Linked DNA regions of Homo sapiens: region 2 is linked to region 1. Evidence: promoter capture Hi-C in 16 types of primary human blood cells and fetal thymus (Javierre and others, 2016). All regions are on one chromosome and are shown on one strand. Each heading gives the region's core, a stretch centred on a gene start or on the middle of the fragment in contact. The rest is flanking DNA. Distances are from core to core; before and after follow the strand shown. Region 1 holds the start of MYO1F (myosin IF). Region 2 overlaps KANK3 (KN motif and ankyrin repeat domains 3).

What was found. Contacts are between HindIII fragments. The CHiCAGO score rates a contact against its expected background, and 5 or more counts as called.
Region 2: a contact is called between a fragment that was not itself captured here and the fragment with the promoter of MYO1F in region 1, in 1 of 17 cell types (neutrophils). The highest score is 5.1, in neutrophils.

Annotation. Positions count from the first base shown.
Region 1 is chr19:8,575,852-8,578,960 of GRCh38, reverse strand. It overlaps MYO1F (myosin IF), which reads left to right and starts at 1,519. Exons shown (of 28, transcript NM_012335.4): 1 at 1,519-1,654. The coding sequence starts at 1,652. RefSeq lists silencers at 1-187, 1,408-1,557, 2,095-2,144 and enhancers at 2,265-2,444, 2,615-2,674, 3,015-3,074. The HindIII fragment of the contact is 24,150 bases long and covers 1-3,109 here.
Region 2 is chr19:8,323,578-8,326,686 of GRCh38, reverse strand. It overlaps KANK3 (KN motif and ankyrin repeat domains 3), which reads left to right. Exons shown (of 11, transcript NM_198471.3): 8 at 1,591-1,736; 9 at 1,857-2,057; 10 at 2,140-2,238. Among named protein-coding and RNA genes, the nearest start is that of RPS28, 3.6 kb to the right of the region's middle. The HindIII fragment of the contact is 3,860 bases long and covers 1-3,109 here.

The DNA of each region.
Region 1 (3,109 bases), core at 270-2,769:
AAGCCCGTCAATTCTGCAAACTCGCTCAGGAGATTCCAGCAGAGACGGGCTCCTTCCCAGCTGTGGCCACTAGGGGCGCTGCATATTAACATCTTCAAGGGGGATGCGGGTTTATCGCCCTGGACCAAAGATAGATCTGAACATGGGTCCCCCAGGGTCTCCCAGGGTCGGGTCCTGCCTCGGCCACCTCCTTGCTGGGTGGTGTGGGGAAGTAACAACCTATTAGAACTGCCATTTCCTCACATGTCAAGAGGAGCCTCAGGTGGTTGGCTGGTGTCCCAAAGACCAGCTCATAGGCTGACACGTACCTGGGCCAGGCTCTGCTGGGGGGACCCACGTTCCCATTTTACAATGAGAAAAGGGAGTAACTAAGTCATCCAGGAAGTAGCCAAACTGGAGGCTGTTAAATCTAGATGTGACATCCAAAGTCAGGGACCTTTCAGATGCACCTGCTTCCCAGTACCCTCCACTTCTGCACACAAACACGTGTGACTTCTGAGGGTCATCTAAAGAGGGAGGTTGGGCCAGGCGTGGTGGCTTATGCCTGTAATCCCAGCACTTTGGGAGGCCGAGTTGGGAGGATCACCTGAGGTCAGGAGTTCAAGGCCGGCCTGGCCAACATGGCGAAATTCCGTCTCTACTAAAAATACAAATATTAGCCAGGTGTGGCGGTGGGCACCTGTAATCCCAGCTACTCAGGAGGCTGAGGCAGGAGAATCGCTTGAACCCAGGAGGCGGAGATTAAAGTAAGCTGAGATTGCACCACTGCATTCTAGCCTGGGTGACAGAGCTAGACTCCGTCTCAAAATAATAACAATAATAATAATGAAGGAGGTTGCCCAGGGATGCCCAGAGCAGACACAGCTGAAGAAGGCACCCTTCCCTGTTGTTGTTGTTTTTTTGGTTTTTTTGTTTTTTCTGGTTTGTTTTTAGAGACAGGGTCTCACTCTTTCGCCCAGGCTGGAGTGCAGTGGCGCAATCAGGGCTCACTGAGGCCTCCACCTCCCAGGTTCAAGCAATCCTCCCACCTCAGCCCTCTGAGTAGCTGGGACTGCAGGCTCATGCCACCATGCCCAGCTAATTTTTTTTCTTTTCATTTTTTGTAGAGATGGGGTCATGCTATATAGCCCAGGCTGGTCTCAAACTCCTGGACTCAAGCGATCCTCCAACCTTGGCCCCCCAAAGTATTGGGATTACAGGCGTGAGCCACCTCCCCTGGGCCCCTTCCTTGGTTTTAAAAAGAGACCCGGGAAGCCCAAATGCTTCCTGAATCGCCCTGAAAAGAGGTGGTTCGTCCTGCAGCCAGCTGACCCAAATGTTCCTGCAGCAGCCCTGTCCCCAAGGAGTTGGGGAAGAGGCCTCTGAGGTCCAGTAGTGGCTGCCATCAAGTTCTGACCCCTCCCTTCAGGCTCAGAGCCCCAAACAGCCAGCTCCCCGCCCCCCTCCACACCCAGCTTCCCTCCCCCATGGCCTCGGCCCCTCCCGCCAAAGGAAGTGAGAAGGGGCTGTTGTAAGAGGAACTAAAGCCGGGAGTCCGGTGAACGGGCAGAAGCAGGGCCATGCCCAAGCCACCCCCAAGATCCCCCTGAACCTGCACCTCCATCACGACCCATTCAGGAGCCTCCAGGAGCCCAGACACCAGCCCCCCACCATGGTAAGTCCTTCAAGGGTGGGATCTGGAAGAAGAAAGAGGAGGGACACCAGCCAGGTGGAGGTGTCCTAAAAATGACCATCAGAAATTGGGGTGAGGGGAGGGGCATGGTGGACTTCTGTGGGGGTGGGGTGTCTCTCAGTGCAGCTCAGGTGCCTCCAGCATCCCTTACCAGGGAGCAAGCTCCCATCTGTAGGTGGTGGGGATGCCAGGGTGGTATCCCTGGATCCAAGGATAGGGCAGGACCTGGAAGACAGAAGGTGGCCCAGGGAGAATCACAGAGTCTGCAGGGACAAGGACATAGCCTCCTTTGCTTGCAAATTAAGGGAGCCCTTTCCCAGTCCAGCCCAGTCTCTCGTCTCCCTGTGTAGCCTTGGGCTAGTCACTTCCCCTCTCTTGGCCCCGGTTCCCACAGATGTCATATTTGGAAATCCGTCTAGATGCGGAAGTTGCTCTTCAGGGGTCTTTCAGTTGCAACATTCTCAAGGTCTGTGGGTTCTGCCACAGAGTCCTCGGCTGAGATGGGAAGCTATGTCTAACAAGCGATGGGGTGGATTGACGCCCTCCCTGTGCCGGTGACGGGCGGTATGGCTGCAGCAGAGGCAGGAGAGGCTGAATACGTCCATGCCACCCTTTGGTGGGCATCCCTTATCCCAAGAGGAGGATGGCAGCCAGAGGTGTTGCTGCCTGTCAAGTCTGAGGTCTGTCGATGATAGCAACGGGGAGACTGTCGTGATCATGGCGCTATTCCTAGCAGTATCGTACCACCATAAGACGCAAAGTAAGAGGTGGCCAGGGCTGACCCCACCCCACAGCTCTCTGCTGTGTAGACCACTTCAGCTTTCATTTCTCGTCATTCAGTCAGTGAGGATGAGAGCATGTGGCTGTGACAGCGGCCACTGCAGGATTCTTGGCAGGTACAGCTTACTAGGGTGGAGTCAGGGACATAGGGCAAGAGGCAGAGGTGGTGTTAGTCTGAGAGACAACACCTTCTTTCAGGAAGCCAGTGAGGGCCAGGGACAGTGGCTCATGCCTGTAATCCCAGCATTTTAGGAGGCTGAGACAGGTAGATCACTTGAGGTCAGGTGTTCGAGACCAGCCTGGCCAACGTGGTGAAACCTCGTCTCTACTAAAAAATACAAAAAATTAACTGGGCGTGGTGGCACACGCCTGTAATCCCAGCTACATATGAGGCTGAGGCAAGAGAATAACTTGAACCCAGGAGGCGGAGGGTGCAGTGAGCTGAGATCCTGCCGCTGCACTCCAGCCTGGGTGACAGAGCACACTCCGTCTCAAAAAAGGAAAGCTGATGAGAAATTGGGCATCCCGGAATTCACACCCAAACCATCAGCTGGAGCTCTGAGACTGTTGGGGTGGGAATTCTTCCAAGATGAGAAGCAAGCCAGGGAGGCTCAGGTCCTGGGATGGGCAGGGCTTTGATCAAAAGAACACAGGAAG
Region 2 (3,109 bases), core at 263-2,762, 250 kb after region 1:
TAGCTGGGACTACAGGCACCCACCACCACACCCGACTAATTTTTTTTTTTTTTTTGTATTTTTAGTAGAGACGGGGTTTCACTGAGTTAGCCAGGATGATCTCAATCTCCTGACCTCATGATCCGCCCGCCTCAGCCTCCCAAAGTGCTGGGATTAAAGGCGTGAGCCACTGCACCTGGCTTTTTTTTTTTTTTTTTTTTTTTTTACAACAGGTGGCCAGAAGTCTGAAATCAAGGTGTTGGCAGGTGTTTTTGTTTGTTTGTTTGAGACAGGGTCTCACTGTGTTACCCAGGCTGGAGTGCAGTGGCGTGATCTTGGCTCACTGCAGCTCCCAGGTTCAAGTGATTATCCTGCCTCAGCCTCCTGAGTAGCTGAGATTACAGGTGCCTGCCACCACGCCTGGCTATTTTTTGTGTTTTTAGTAGAGATGGGGTTCACCACATTGGCCAGGCTGGTCTCGAACTCCTGACCTCAAGTGATCAACCACCTCGGCCTCTCAAAGTGCTGGGATTACAGACGTGAGCCAGTGTCCTGGCAACCAAATTCATTTTGAATTGTTGCTCTTGGCCAGGCGCGGTGGCTCACACCTGTAATCCCAGCACTTTGGGAAGCTGAGGCAAGCGAATCATGAGGTCGGAGTTCGAGACCAGCCTGACCAACATGGTGAAACCGTCTCTACTAAAAATACAAAAATTAGCTGGGCGTGGTGGTGCATGCCTGTAATCCCAGCTACTCAAGTGGCCAAGGCAGAAGAATCGCTTAAACCTGGGAGGCAGAGGTTGCAGTGAGCTGAGATCGTGCCACTGCACTCCAGCCTGGGCGACAGAATGAGACTCCATCTCTAAATAAATAAATAGTTGCTCCTGGCTGCTGTGTGGAACCTGGAGTGGATTCAGAGAGAAGGGTGGAGGCTGGCACTGTTCTTTAGGGGAGCAATGATGGTGGCTTGGCGGGTGGTGGCCATGAAAATAAACATATCCTTTTATTATTCAGTCAACAAATGTTTAACTGAGCATCTACTATGTGCCAAGTATTGTTCTAAGTACTGAGGGATACAGAAGCAAACAAAACCAAGTCCCTGCCTGATTTGAAACAGGGACTTGATTTGAAATAGCCACTGGGCCAGTGGCTCATGCCTCTAATTCCAGCACTTTGGGAGGCTACGGTGGGTGGATCACTTGAGGTCAGGAGTTCGAGACTAGCCTGGCCAACATGGTGAAACCCTGTCTCTACTAAATAATACAAAAATTAGCTGGGTGTGATGGCACATGCTGTAGTTCCAGCTACTCCGGAGGTGGAGATTGCAGTGAGCTGAGATCGCACCACTGCACTCCAGCCTGGGTGACAGAGCGAGACTATGTCTCAAAAAAAAAAAAAAAAAAAAAAAAAAGATGAAACAGGAAGGTCCTTCACTGAGCAGATGGTATTTGAGCAACACCTTAGTGAGGGAGGAACCAGGTAGCTATTGTGGGGAGAACGTTGAGACCACCCCATATGCAGGTGCTGTGCCCGAGGCTTGCAGGGAGGTGAGTGGATCAAGTCGGGCCGCGGTGTTGGCATCTCCGTGGACGGCCCCCTTTTCTCTCCCAGGGGCCTGCGAGGTCAACCGCCAGAACCGAGCCGGCTACTCGGCCCTCATGCTGGCTGCACTCACCTCTGTGAGGCAGGAAGAGGAGGACATGGCTGTGGTCCAGAGACTCTTCTGCATGGGTGATGTCAATGCCAAGGCCAGTCAGGTGCGTGGGCGCCCCCACTGTGGCTCTCAGCCAGGAGTCACTTCCACTTTGGGAGTCAACCTGTGACCTCCCTTCCCTGAGCCTACCCCAGCCTGTTCCCTCTTCCTCCCCACTCCCCAGACGGGGCAGACAGCCCTCATGCTGGCCATCAGCCATGGCCGACAGGACATGGTGGCAACCCTACTGGCGTGTGGGGCTGATGTGAATGCGCAGGATGCGGATGGGGCCACAGCGCTGATGTGTGCCAGTGAGTATGGGCGCCTGGACACCGTGCGGCTGCTGCTCACCCAGCCAGGCTGTGACCCTGCCATCCTGGACAATGTAAGACCCCACAATGGGGCTGGCATCTTGGGGGGTGCCCATGGCTTGGCTCAGGGATCTGACTGTCCCTAACGTTCCACAGGAGGGCACCAGTGCCCTGGCCATCGCCCTGGAGGCTGAGCAGGATGAGGTGGCCGCTCTGCTACATGCCCACCTGAGCTCGGGCCAGCCCGACACCCAGGTGAGCACAGCTCTGGAAGAAACAAACTTTCCCAGCTGCAAATTCAGTTTGCAGAGGATAGTAAATATGCCCTGAGCCTCCCTTTCTGCTCCCCAAAGGTGGCACCAGGGGTGCAGAACCAGTGTCTGGATTCTCCTATGTGGCTGCTTTTCTTTTTTGGGAGACAGGGTCTCACTCTGTAACCCGGGTTGGGGTGTAGTGGTGTGATCAGAGCTCACTGCAGCCACAAACTCCTGAGCTCAAGGGATCCTTCTGCCTCAGCATCCTCAAGTGCTGGGATTACAGGTGTGAAACCAGAGCGCCTGGCAGGGGCTGGGATTTGATGTGAAAGCAGCAAAACCCCAGTGAGGTTGACACTACCCCAGGTCATGAGACTGAGTCCTCAAGGGGGGAAGTAACCTAAGGTCACAGAGACCTAGCTAAGACCTTTCATGCATGCCCCTGGGCTCCTGTTACCTACTGCCAGGGAGGCTCTTATCAAAGGAAAAAGGAGCCCTTTGGCATCAGGCAGGGTGGGGAAGGGGGTCCAGAGCTTCAGAACTGGAGACTGGGTGAGTTTGCAGAACACATTAACCCCCAACACCACTATACTCTGATGGCCAAGTGCCAGGATGTTTTAGCACTTTCATAATCCAAGTTATCTAATCAGCCCACTCATCCTGTACAGGTTGACCCCAATTTACCATGGCTCCACTTACCATTTTTTATTTATTTTTGAGATGGAGTCTTCCTCTGTCACCGAGGCTAGAGTGCAGTGGGGCGACTGCAGCTCACTGCAACCTCCACCTCTGGGGTTCAAGCGATTCTTCTGCCTCAGCCTCTCAAGTAGTTGGGACTACAGGCACGTGCTACCATGCCCAGCTAATTTTTT